3 separate regions of the Homo sapiens genome follow, and regions 1 and 3 are each linked to region 2. The links are contacts of gene promoters, found by promoter capture Hi-C in blood cells and fetal thymus (Javierre and others, 2016). All regions are on one chromosome and are shown on one strand. The core of a region is centred on a gene start or on the middle of the fragment in contact, and the rest is flanking DNA. Distances in the headings are between cores, read along the strand shown. Region 1 holds the start of PORCN (porcupine O-acyltransferase). Region 2 holds the start of UXT-AS1 (UXT antisense RNA 1). Region 3 holds the start of SLC38A5 (solute carrier family 38 member 5).

What was found. The method cuts DNA at HindIII sites, captures the fragments that hold promoters and counts their contacts. A CHiCAGO score of 5 or more calls a contact.
Region 1: a contact is called between the fragment with the promoter of PORCN here and the fragment with the promoter of UXT-AS1 in region 2, in 4 of 17 cell types (monocytes, M1 macrophages, total B cells and 1 more). The highest score is 6.5, in monocytes.
Region 3: the fragment with the promoter of SLC38A5 here is called in contact with the fragment with the promoter of UXT-AS1 in region 2 in 6 of 17 cell types (fetal thymus, naive B cells, total CD4 T cells and 3 more); the score reaches 9.2 in fetal thymus.

Annotation. Positions count from the first base shown.
Region 1 is chrX:48,505,804-48,510,627 of GRCh38, forward strand. It overlaps PORCN (porcupine O-acyltransferase), which reads left to right and starts at 3,189. Exons shown (of 15, transcript NM_203475.3): 1 at 3,189-3,300; 2 at 3,981-4,153. The coding sequence starts at 4,018. It overlaps PORCN-DT (PORCN divergent transcript), which reads right to left and starts at 3,036. Exons shown (of 2, transcript NR_135596.1): 1 at 2,916-3,036; 2 at 723-1,252. RefSeq lists a silencer at 3,016-3,415. The HindIII fragment of the contact is 7,257 bases long and covers 1-4,824 here.
Region 2 is chrX:47,657,303-47,662,058 of GRCh38, forward strand. UXT-AS1 (UXT antisense RNA 1) reads left to right here and starts at 1,531. Exons shown (of 2, transcript NR_028119.1): 1 at 1,531-1,878; 2 at 2,593-2,809. It overlaps UXT (ubiquitously expressed prefoldin like chaperone), which reads right to left and starts at 1,878. Exons shown (of 7, transcript NM_004182.4): 1 at 1,813-1,878; 2 at 1,528-1,634; 3 at 480-561; 4 at 270-337. The coding sequence starts at 1,625. RefSeq lists enhancers at 1,222-1,725, 1,710-1,969, 1,726-2,227 and silencers at 1,450-1,529, 1,808-2,147. The HindIII fragment of the contact is 4,632 bases long and covers 1-3,175 here.
Region 3 is chrX:48,469,010-48,472,614 of GRCh38, forward strand. SLC38A5 (solute carrier family 38 member 5) reads right to left here and starts at 1,251. Exons shown (of 17, transcript NM_033518.4): 1 at 1,173-1,251; 2 at 326-427. The HindIII fragment of the contact is 10,592 bases long and covers 1-3,605 here.

The DNA.
Region 1 (4,824 bases), core at 1,939-4,438, 850 kb after region 2:
AAAATAGTAAATTTATACTGGTGAAAACTAGAAGACCACTTTAAGCAAAAGATCAATGCTAATACTAACAATTTCGAGACTAACTGAACCCTCCTGCCTCCTGATAACGCTGAGAACACAGCGTCACTTCTGTGGAATTCCTGCCAAAAATGCAGAATTCAAATCTAATCATGAGGAGACATCAGATAAACCCAAATTGAAGGACATTCTTCCAAAGAACTGGTCTGTGCTCTCCCAAAACATCAAGATCATGAAAGTTAAGTGAAGATGGAGACATTGTTCCACATTGGAGGAGACTAAAAAAACCTGATAACAGAATGTATCTTGTGACCCTATGATTCCCTTTTCCTATACAAGGACACTATTGACATGCCCACCAGGGTGGCTAGAACCAAAAAGTCAGATAACAAGTATTTGTGAGGATGTGGAGCAATGGAAACCTCATACTATGCTGGTAGCAATGTAAAAAAAGAAAAAAAAGTCCTTGCTCTTAGGATATTCATACTGAAGTATTTAGTTAAAAGGGTGTCATATCCGCAACCACTAACAAATAATTCAGAAAAATCACTGTATATCATTCAGAAAAATTATATATATGTAAATTACATATGTATATACATGGGGAGAAAGAAACGGACAGAGACAGAGAGAGAGCAAATATGTTATCATTATAAGGCTTGGCATTTTTGTCAGTCCCATAAGTGAAAAATAGTATATCATTGTTTTTAATTTGTATCTCTTTAATTATGGAGAGCTCATCTAAAACACCCCAGAAACCACAACCTAGAATGACCACAGACATTTATTGAGTGTCCACCCTCTACTAAGCTCCAGTGATAAAAATATGAAGCACAACATCTGGTAGATGTAAAATGGTATTATATCTCACTGTTGTTTTAATTTTACATTTCCCTGAGCAGTAAAGAGATTGGGTTATCTTTTCATATATTATACATATTGACCATTTTAGGTTTCTTCTGCTGTGAATTACCTATTTGTACCCAATGTCTATTGCCAAGTGTATTGTTTGTCCTCTTCGGATTTGTAGATGTTCGTTATATATCCTAAAACCTAGATCCTACTTCTTTGTGACACAGGTCAAAAGCCTAGATGGAAACAATCAAGTCCGCAAAGCCCAGGAGCACATGTGGTAAGAATCTTCCAGTTTTAAATGCCAAGTCTTGCAATTGAGGGAAGTATTTCTGGTAGGTGCTGTGGGTCATTGTTGACTCAACTTGAGTGGGTTTGACAACTGAGAAAAAAATTAAAATGAAATTTAATTCATAAAATGTATGTCCTGTATTCTGCTGTTAAGGAAAAGAATTGATATTTGTGCATCTGGTCTAAGCTATTATTCCTTATATATACATATTCTTACCGTATTAAATGTTTTTTGTTTGTAATACATGAATACTAATTTATGAGCTAGAACTCCATTTAACTTCATGTTAAAATAGAGAGAAAATATACATTTCTCTTCAATTACCATTGGTGTTTCCCAGCAAAAACCTGCCAAGCCCACTCTTTTGTTTAACAGAAAAGGACAATGGAGACGGGTGAGTGAACATGACTTGCCCAGCTCCATACAGGCCATTGTTAATCTGATTAAAATCTGTTTCAGTTGGCTGCCCAGGTCAGGGTGGCGTCCAGTTTGACCTGGGCTTCCTTCTCCCTTCCACGTCACAGCTAAGCATGTAGTGCAGTAAGCGCCCAGTAAGTGCTCTTTTGGAAAAATAGGCCCTTCATCAGCCTAGGTACAAAGGGGAATGCCTAGAAACTGCAGCAGTAGGGTAGGTAGAAGGCGGGTGCTACATAAATCTTTAGTGTTGGTGCAGATAGAGGTGCGGATGGGGCCAGTGTAAGCGCTTTCTTTTTTATTTTATTTATTTATTTATTTAGAGAAGGAGTTTCGCTCTTGTTTATTTATTTATTTATTTTGGAGAAGGAGTTTTGCTCTTGTCACCCAGGCTGGAGTGCAATGGCGTGATCTCGGCTCACTGCAACCTCCGTCTCCTGGGCTCAAGTGATTCTCCTGCCTCAGCCTCCGGAGTAGCTGGGATTACAGGCGCCCAGCTAAATTTTTTGTATTTTTAGTAGAGACAGGGTTTCGCCATATTGGCCAGCCTGGTCTCAAACTCATGACCTCAGGTGATCCATCCGCCTCGGCCTTCCAAAGTGCTGGGTTACAGGTGTGAGCCACCACGCCCAGTCTTTATTTATTTATTTTGAGACGGAGTTTCGCTCTTGTAGCCCACAATGACGCGATCTTGGCTCACTGCAACCTCTGCCTCCTGATTCTCCTGCTTTAACCTCCCGAGTAGCTGGGATTACAAGCGTGCGCCACCACGCCTGGCTAATTTTTGTATTTTTAGTAGAGACGGGGTTTCGCCATGTTGGCCAGGCTGGTCTCGAACTCCTGACCTCAAGCTATCCTCCTACCCTTGGCCTCCCGAAGTGCTGGGTTTATAGGCGTGAGCCACCGAGCCTGGCCCTTAAGAGCTTTATAAATGCCCCCCTTTTAAGTGCTCGGTACTAGCCTCCCTCTAGTTCACAGAGAACATTTACTAGTCGCTGGGGTCACCTTCGAAGCAAAGAGTCTGCTGGGGAATTAAGCATGCAAATCACTTCTCAACGACGACACGCCAAGTGCTCACAGCTCGTCCCCAGGGGAAGCACAGGCGCCTAATTTGTGTTCCTAGGTGACACAGTCATTACTTATAAATGTTCCTGGCCGGTCCCAGGAGGTGGGAGGGTTGGGAGTTACTTCGGTTCTCTCAAAGGTTGGGGAAGGAGAGATCTCGGTTTGTTTTCCCATCTGTGAAACGGGGACACCACGGTATTTAGAGGACGTGCGCGGGTGACTATTTGGGGGTGCAGCGGCTTCCCTCCTCCCTCCCCCATCTTTCCCTTCTCACTTCCAAGGCTTGGAAATTTGGAGATTCGGAAGTTTGTTCTTGGATGGCCAGAAATCCTCCGGAGGCAGACGGTCTGGGGCTGAAACCGCCACAGGCCGGAAAGGTGCGGGCGTGAACGTCCTGCGCGCCGACGTCCCCCCGCGCCGGTCTCCCCTCAATCCTCCTGCTCCCCTCCTCCGCGTCCCCGTCCCCGCCCCCCTCCTGCTCTCCCATTGGCCGAGCCGGCGGCCGGGCCGCCCCGGGATTTAAAGGGCCCGCTCGCCGCGCCGCTCTGGGAGCCGCTGCTGGTCCCGGCCTTGCGGCCTGCGGGGGAGGCTGCCCGGAGGAGGCAGCGGCGGCGGCAGCGCGTCCTCGGTCCCCAGGACCACGGCTTCTTTCCTGCCAGGTAGGTCGCCAGTAGTGCGCACGCGGCTCCCCAGCTCCCATCCCTGGGCCGGCCTCCCCAGGCGGATCTGTAGCGCGAGTGCTAGGACCCCCTCCCCATCACCTTTCCGACTCTCCCTCAGGCTATGTCTCCTACCACCACCTCCTTGCAGCCCCCGGACCTGGGCAGGACTTTGTTGGCGGCCTCTCGCCGGGTGGGGATGAGATGGGGGGCGCGGAGGATACAGGACACCCCCCCTCCCCGTGCCGCCGCATCCATACAAGGAGAGATGCACACGGCCCCCAAGTGTCACAGAATCCCCCTCTCTGCCCTCCACTCAGAGCGACTCTACCTTGGAAACCAGGGATTCCCCTTCCCGTCGCCCGCCCCATTTGATATATGGGCCTGAAATGTATGCCATCCCATCACCATCGGACTGGACTGTTCACAGCACTGGAGAGACAGAGGTCCTTCATTCACTCCAGGTCACAGGCTGTGCGTGTGCATGCCGAACACCCACATGCACACAGTTGGTGGCTCAGTCTGATGTACCTGACTTCTCACGCCTTCCCCCAGTCCTCCAGTACCGTGCCTCTACATGGGCTGGGCAGCCCCAAACTGAAATGTGAGTGCCAGAGTGCATCCTTTAAGCGAGGTCTGCCCCACGGACACCCGCTCCCTCTGTGTCCCTGCTTTGACAGATCTATCCATCTGGCCATCCATCCGTGGGGGTCTGCAATGGCCACCTTTAGCCGCCAGGAATTTTTCCAGCAGCTACTGCAAGGCTGTCTCCTGCCTACTGCCCAGCAGGGCCTTGACCAGATCTGGCTGCTCCTTGCCATCTGCCTCGCCTGCCGCCTCCTCTGGAGGCTCGGTAAGTGCCTGCCATACCGTGTGCCACCATGCCAGGCCATATCAGACCTCCCACATTCATCCATATCGAGCCACACCTTACCCTGTCACATCCTGCCAGGCCCTAGCATGTCCAAGCTGGACCCCAACATGTTCAGCCCCACCACATCCCACCAGGCCAAACCCCATTCCACCATACCACATCCTACTATGCCAGCCACCCCATGCCATGCCACACCGAGCCACATCCTGCCATGCCAAGCCATGCCCTTCAGTATTCCTGAGTTCTGGGATTCCAGAAAGCTGAGATTCTTGGATCTTGGGATTCTGAAATGTCTACATCCCAAGGTTATAAGACATTGGCATGCTGATGTCACAGGGTTATGGAATCCCAAAGTACCATGATTACAGCGTTTGGAGATTCTGACAATTTGAAATTCTCACATTCTAGACTTCTAAAATGTTGGCATTGTGGATTTCTATAATCAGGGCATGATGCGATTTCTGGATTCTAGGATTCTGAAATGTTTCCACAGTCATAGCAGGCCTGTATCTTAATGAAAGATTCCAAGTCCCCAAGATTCCTATAGGAGGCGGAGATTTCTGGAAATCTGAGATCCGAAGGTTCTACACTTTCTTTTTTCTTTCTTTCTTTTTTAATTTTAAATGGATGTTCTATTTTTTCCCAGGTTT
Region 2 (4,756 bases), core at 281-2,780:
AGGTTAGAGGAAGTGGGGAGAAGTCCTTATCACTGTTTAGCATAGTTTATGTTTTGCTCCCCACCCTTCCCCAAATTGAGGCTCTGGGAAGGCAGGGATTTTGTCCTATTTTATTCACTGTCACATCCCCAGCACCTAGCTTATATCCTACTGGGATATAAAACCTCGCATAGTGCCTGGTACATAGAAGATACTCAAAAAAATATAAGTTGCATGAGGGAAGGGGTAAGCTGAACCCTGTGGGCTCAGAGGGGCGGGTAGACACTCACACCACTGTGTCAACGAAGAAGTTACAGCCCAAATCCACCTGCATATATAACTCCGAGTGCTTAGCTTCCTGTGGGGCCAGGGAAAAAGAGGTAGGGGTCAGTGGTGAACTCTTAGGTCAGGTGACAGGGTTGGGTCTGGAGTCTCTCTTCCCATTTCCCTCCCTTGCCCACACATACCAAAAAAATGGTACCCAATCCCATAGTCTTTACCTGGAGTCGCTCAATGACATTTCTCAGTTGAAGGTATTTGGCCAGCTGCTCATATACCTTGTCTCGATGGTCCAGCACCTTTCTGATGGGACGAAAGTACAATGGTGACCAATAGGCAGCCCCATTCCTCCTAGTATACCTCATATCATGACCCTCTGAGACTCTCATGTCACCATACACTGAAAAGGCTTTTTAGTGCATAAGTTAATTTTCGGCTCTGGGTCAGACTGCCTGGGTTTGGATCTGGGCTCTATCCTTTATAGATGTGTGACTTTGGCAAGTAAATAACCTGTTTGGGACTCAGTTTCCCCATTTATAAAATACAGATGACAGTATTACCTTGTAGAGTCATTAGGATTAAATGAGCGTTTACTACAAAGCATCTAGAATAATGCTTATCAAATGGTAAACTCTCTATATACATGTTAGTTATAATTACTATTATTATACTCCCAATACTGAACTCCAATCATAATGTCCCATCCTCACCCTAGAAAAATCCTCCATCCCTTTTAGGATGCTCATAGGCCTAGTTCTGAACACCTTATTTCCTGCTTAGATTAACAAAGATTGCAATAATATTTCTTCATACTCATTGAACCTCTACTATGTTTCAGGCATCCATGCTAAATTCTTGACAAAGATGGGACACATCAAAAACTCAAAACCACTGCATGGGGAAGGTTCCAGAAAACTCCCCATTTCACAGAAGAGTAAAGTTTATAGGGCACAGAAAGGCGAGGTAGGACGTATTCACAAGGATGAAGAATGGCCGAGCCAGGATTCGAACCCGAGAACTGTGGCTCCAGAAAACAAGCCTTAATCTGTTAAACATCGGAGGCCGCGCATGCGCTGACACGCCCCTGCTATGAACGCCACGTCCCAGCCAAACTGCACCCCGGATGTCGTCCCCACTTCTCGCTCCAAGGAGCGCGGGGCCGGACTCTGAACGCCTCGCCCGCCAATTCAAAGGGTTGGCCCTAACTTTGAACGCCCCACCCACCACGTGGAATGTTCCAAACGCCCCGCCCCCCGCACTGTCACTCACCGCAAGTCCCGCTGCAGCACGTCACTGATGAAGGTCTCGTAGCGCAGCACTTTCTCCCCCGTGGCCTCCACCGCCCGCCGCTTAGGGGGCGTCGCCATGATGGGCTCCTGGGGAGTGGGGAGGGGGAAGACCATGTTGACCGATCCAGTTTGGCCTCACACACAGTTCATCTCTACCCTCTCAACGCTGGGAATCGGCTTGTCCGGCTCAAGCTGGAGGTTCAGCCTTCCGCCCCTCCCAACTCGGGGACCCGACCACCCAGGGACACCCAAGCGCGGCCTTTACCTCAGGCCGCCAGCAATAAGAACGGTTGGTAGGAACCGCGGCTTCCGGGTGGCGCGGGTGAATGACGTAAGTGGCAAGCGCGCTGGCCAACCAAATAGCCAGTTGGGGAGGGGCGGGCCTGAGTGGAAGAAGACGGGCCAAAGGGGAGAAGAGAAGGGCAGGGCTTCACGGAATCCGAGGAGATCAAAGAAGACTAGGGCGTGCGAGCAGGGGCCGTCTGGCAATAAACCGGCCAATGGGGGACTGCAAAAGCGGCGCCTGGAGCCTATGGAGACCGTGTGTGGCTGGTGGGGGTGGGATTTAATGGGATTTGGCGGGTTCTAAGGTAGGCGCGACGCACAGGTGGAGGTAGAGGAAGTGAAGAGTTTAATATTTAAAAGGACCTAAAAATTGACTATGGTTCTGGTCTATAAGGAAGATCCCGTGTGATCTGTCGGCCTGGATATTGATTTTTCACACGGGAGGTTTGGATTTCACTCCTGGCAATGGGACTGAGTATAAGCATTTAAAAGGTTTTAAACAGAGACAGGTTTTCTAAAATTCATCTTTGATAACTCCAGCTCTGCACTCGCAACCCATAAGTGAGGCTCAAGTGGAAATTGACAACACTCTCTGTCTAATCACCTCGTTTGATAGTCAAATGGAGAGGGTGGCTGAAGTCCTCTGCCGAAGATTGGCCATCTTGTAGTTAGGCATAGTTCCCATGTTTTTATTTAAATGGTAAGGTTTTTGTGAATTTATTCTTATGCACTAGAGTGACTGAGTGAATTTATTTTTCAGGTTAGATTTTCAAACAAGAACTTATAACCCAGCAAGAATGGGCCTTTGCCTGGAGAAGAATCCAGACCATGGGATGAATCCCCAAATGCTATTTCCATCTGTAGAGCCTAGAGCACCCACCCCTACCAAGGAAGTCTTCCCAGATAATTTGTGTTTCATATGTAAAAGCAAGTTTTTTTTTTCAAATGCTCAAAACCCAAGCAAGTTAAGCCCTTCCTTCCTTCCTTCCTTCCTTTCTTTTCTCTCTCTCTCTCTTTCTTTCTCTCTCTCTCTCTTTCTTTCTTTTTTTTCTTTTTTAGACAGGGTCTGTGTCCCCTAGGCTGGAGTGCAGTGGTATGATCATGACTCATTGCAGCCTCAACCTCCCAGGCTCAAGTGATCCTCCCGCTTCAGCCTCTGGAGTACCTGGGACTACTGGCATACACCACCACGCCCATCTAATTTTTAAAAAAGTTTTTGTAGAGACAGAGTCTCACTATGTTGCCCAGGCTGGTCTCAAACTCCTAGGCTTAAGTGATTTGCCCACCTCGGCCTCCCAAAATGCCGAGATTATAGGCATGAGCCAGCACACCTGGCCAAGTTAAGCTTTTCTTTGCCCTTAGAACGAGATAATTGTAAAATGAAAACATTGAGATTAGTTTTTTTGGTCTGTAAATCTCATGTTACATATAGTTTAAATTACATTGAGTGTGATTGGAATAGATACTAGGTAGAAAAATATTATCTAGTTAATCTATACCACTTTCCTGTGAAAAGAGAGAAAAGAAGACACATATTTATTTAACAGAGAACACAATTCTGATGGGCTGGAGATGAGTCTGTGTAAGTCTATTAACTTATATTTCACAAAAAAGAATTTTTTACTTAAAAATGTATTTCCAACTTTATTTTTACATTTCAAACCTACAGAAAAGTTGACAGTGAACACTCATATACCCTGCACTTAAGTTCGCCAGTTGTTTTATTTTGAATTTTTAAAATTTTTTTAGAGGCAGGGTCTTGCTCTCTTGCCTAGGCTAGAATGCAGTGGTGTGATCTCGGTTCACTGCAACCTCTGCCACCGGGCTCAAGCAATCCTCCCGCCTAAGCCTCCTGCATAGCTGGGACTACAGGCATGAGCCACCATGCCCAGCTAATTTTTTGTAGAAATGGGGTTTCACCATGTTGCCCAGGCTGGTCTCGAATGCCTGAGCTCAATCAGTTCGCCTAACTCGGCCTCCCAGGGTGCTGGGATTACAGGCGTGAGCCACCATGCCCGGCCTGGATTCACTCGTTGTTAATATTTGATCACATTTGCTTTCTTTCCAGACCATAGGATAATTGTTGACATGGCTGCATAGCATTCCATTCTTTGGATGGCCTCAGATTTTTGAGCCACTCCTCTGTCACTGGATATTTGAATGTGTTCAGATATTTTCGTTGTTATAACCAGGATGGGATAAGTCTTTGCTGTCAAATTTTTGTGCGGAGCCATGATTATTTCCTTGTGATAAATTCCTAGAAGTAGAATTTATAGATTTTTTTTGAGACAGAGTCTCACTTTGTTGCCAAGGCTGGAGTGTAGTGGTGTGATCTCTGCTCATGGCAACCTCTGCCTCCTGGTTTCAAGTGATTCTTCTGCTTCAGCCTCTGGAGTAGCTAGGACTACGGGCACACACTACCATGCCGCCTAGCTAATTTTTGTATTTTTAATAGACACAGGGTTTCACCATGTTGGCCAGGCTGGTCTCGAACTTGTGGCCTCAAGTGATCTGCCCACCTCGGCCTCCCAGGGCGCTGGGATTACAGGCATGAGCCACCTCACCCGGCTGAATTTATGGATTTAAAGGAGGTCACTGCATTGTAAATCAAGTGTTGAGTGACAGTGGTACGCATAACAGTGAACCTCCTCATCTAAGCTCTATATCAGGGGTCAGCAAATTATGGCCCCTGGTTTGCTGACCCTTTACAGTTTCCTATAGCCTGCAAACTAGGAATACTATTTACATCTTTAAAGGGCTTTAGAAAAGTAAAACTAATATTTTGTGACACATCAAAATTATATGAAATTTGCATTTTAGTGTCCATTAATAAAATTTTCTTGGAACACAAGTCTCACTCATGCGTTTACATATTGTCTGTTACTGCTTTCACGCTATAATGGCAGAGTTGAGTAGTTGCCAAA
Region 3 (3,605 bases), core at 1-2,500, 810 kb after region 2:
CTCAGAAACCCCCATTCAAGGTCCCCATTAGAGCTCAAACTGGCTCAGGAAATCCTTTTCCCAAGTCCTGAATCCCGTTCCTGGGACAGGGAGGGTCTCAAGGAGTCCCATCCCCCACCACCAGCACCCTCCGGAGCCTCCCACCCACACCTGAATTCACTTCCTGGGATCAGGGTACAAAAAGGACCTCCCCATACACGCCATTCCATTCCCCACTAGTGCTAAAATGTCTCCAAGGAACCCCGAGCCCCCTCCCAGGACCCCTACTCATATCTCAGGCCCCCAGGAACACCATCCCCGCAGCCCACGCTCCCTCCTCACCTACCTGCTCCTCTCAGCTCCTGAAGTGGCCGCAACTCAGACTCAGGTTCGGGCACCCTCTCGGCTGCCTAGGCTCCTGCTCTGGAGCGGTACTTTTTTTTTTTTCCTGAGAAGAAATGTTAATTTTAATTTCGTTTCCCTCCTTCTGGCCCTGGGCGGGGGAAGAGGTGGAGAAGGGGCGCCCCCTATCTGGACCCACTTGGAGGGAGACAGCGGTTTGTTTGTGTGTTGATGGTGGGGGAAATGGCCTGAAAGATTGAGGGTGTAGACCCACAGCTAGAGAGAGTGACAGGCAGACAGAGGGGATGGACTCACAGAGCAGACGGACAGCAGGATGGGATGGATGGCAGAAAAAGGTGCAGAGAGGAGACAGAGAGAGAGTAGGAGAACTGAAGTTACAAAGAAAGCAGGCATGAGAAACAGCACAGGAACAGACAGACCACAGAAGGGACAGAAAGACAGATGGGCGGGAGGAGGGGATGCTAGGGGAGCTTGGAAGACAGGCAGAGACAGGGAGAAAGGGACACACAGGCAGACTCAGAAACAAACAGGTGGGTAGGGATAGGCTCGTGGAAACACCTGCAGAAAGGCAACAGGCAATTGGGCTCAGTCATAGACAGGAGACACAGGCTGGCCAAGAGGTGGGGGACAGAGCCAGACAGCTCCCCAAACAGAGGGTAGGACCAGACACACCAGCTCAGAGAGATGAAGGGGCAGAGAGAGTGGTTGAGGCAGAGAGACTCCTGGAGGGACAGGAGAAAAGAGGCAGAGAGAGGCAGATTCAGGCAGAGAGGCCTGGGGACAGCAGGGGAACAGGTGCAGGGGTAGTAGCCAGGCTATTCCAGGCAGACCTCAGGCAGACAGCCTAGGCACGAGAGGACCCTAGATCTTGGGGGCCCCCAGAGGGAGGCAGGGAGGGCATTTGTGGCTGGGTGGGGAATGTGGACTGTGAACTCACACTGTCCGCAAACTGGGCGGGCACTGTAGTCCTGGACCCCACCCCAAGCGTGGGGTGGGGCTTGTCCAAGCCCTGAGAAGTCCCACTATCTGTCTGTCCGTCTGTCTTCTATGGGAGTCCGTCTGTTCACTCCCCTCCAGGCATATGACAGGCATGCCTGTCCCAGGCAAGCCACGTGTCCGCTACAGGATGTCAGGCAGGGTGGACTTGGGGTCTGGGACCACCTCGACTGGGCTGCTTGAAGCCCAGGTGGACAAGAGGCCTCTGTCTGGGCCCCTCGCCCGCCTGCCCACCCCCGACAGGGAACACAGAATTCCCGGAAAGGCCAGGAGCTGGCTGGGGCTTCAAAGCTGGCCTAGATGCCCTCACCCCACCCACAGTTGGAGGAGGACAAGGGATGGGGCGTTTACTTCCCCACAGCGGGAGAGAGACTCCTGCACACTCAGGAATCGCAGCTACACAACAGGACCCATCACAGCCCCATCAAGGGGCTCAGATACGGGGGCCAACTCGCCATCACTCACAGAGGTGCACAAAGACTCACAGCCACACAAGAGAATAAAGACTGACAGACATGAACACACACAGACTCACCACTGCACGTTAAGAGCAATGGCTCATGGGACAGTCACACACGTGGCCACACAGAGTGACGATAGTCTTACAGCTATCAATACCGACAGGCTCAGAGCCGCTCACAGAGAGCACAGACTAACACAGGGATAGGCTTGTGCCGATTTCCAGACACTCGAGACTCCTGAACCTCACCGCCCGTGGACCCACAGCCATGCCAAAGACAATCAACAGGCAAATCACACACACAGATTCACAGCCACACACAGAGCACACAATTACACACAGCTGATGACATTGTGTGTGGGTCCTGGGTCTTTCCCACACACACGATCCAGGTTCAGATGGCCCTGGATCTGAACCTGAATCCAGGTTCAGATGACCCTGGAGGCAAACTTCCAGGTTCAAGCCCTAAAATGATATCTCTGTGTATGTGAACTTGAATGTGCACTTGTGACCACATGTAACCACATACAGCTCCAGTCACAGAGAGAGGCACTCATAGGCTGACATGATTTTTGTACAAACAGAAAAGCCATAGTCTCCTTCTCTCTCTCTCTCCTCTCTCTCTCTCTCTCACACACACACACACACACAACTGCATTTCAGCAAATGGCTGCACACAGCCGTGTACACACACAGCTAGTCACAAATCAAGTCAGAAAAGAAACATATAGGGAAAGCATATACCTGCACACAAACACAAAGCACAGGAATGCAGAGTACGCTTACTATCGTTGCAAAGAAAAAATCCAGAAACCACACTGAAAGCTACACAAGGAAAAAACAAGAGAACCAGATAGTACTCATACCATGGCACCAGAAGAAACACCCCGAGGGCACACATACCTGCAGCCACTCGCTAAGAAGAGACACAAATACAGCAGCAGACACACAAAGAAAGATACGTGCGCATAGATACACATATAGGAGGGACAAGTACTCTGACACACTTGTCACCCACGACCATTACAAAGGAGACAAACACCCAAGCAACACACACACACAACAACATATAGATGAACTGCACCGACAGACAGTACCAATGCACACGGTTGCCAAAAAAAAAAAAAAAAAAAAGGTATGAGTTGGGCCGGGTGCAGTGGTTCATGCCTGTAATCCCAGCACTTTGGGAGGCCAAGGTGAGTGAATCATGAGGTCAGTAGTTCGAGACCAGCCTGGCCAACGTGGCGAAACCCCGTCTCTACTAAAAATACAAAAAAAATTAGCTGGGCGTGGTGGCGGGTTCCTGTAATCCCAGCTACTCGGGAGGCTGAGGCAAGAGAATTGCTTGAACCTGGAAGGCGGAGGTTGCAGTGAGCCAAGATCGCGCCACTGCACTCCGGCCCAAGCGACAGAGTGAGACTCCATCTCAAAAAAAAAAAAAAAAAAAAGCACAAGTTTGGCAGGCGGCCATAGACAGAACGCAGCACCAGGCAAGTTACATAGGAAGACGCAGGCACAGCTCACATACGTGTGGCTGTGGCTGAGAACGGGCAGGTGAGATACACTCAGCATATTCACACACACGTGCGCACACACTCCTGCCCAACCTCCTCCAGCCTCTGTCTCCTTTCCTATCTACTCTGATTTCTCTCTCCCCTCATACCCCTCCCCCACCCAGAGCCATTACACATCTGTGCTACCAGCTGGCCAGGGAAAGAGACACCTGTCACTAGAGGCTTTGACCCAGATGGCTAAAGGTCGGGGGGTGGGGGGGATGCAGGTATCCATATTTCAAGTCTGAAGTGTC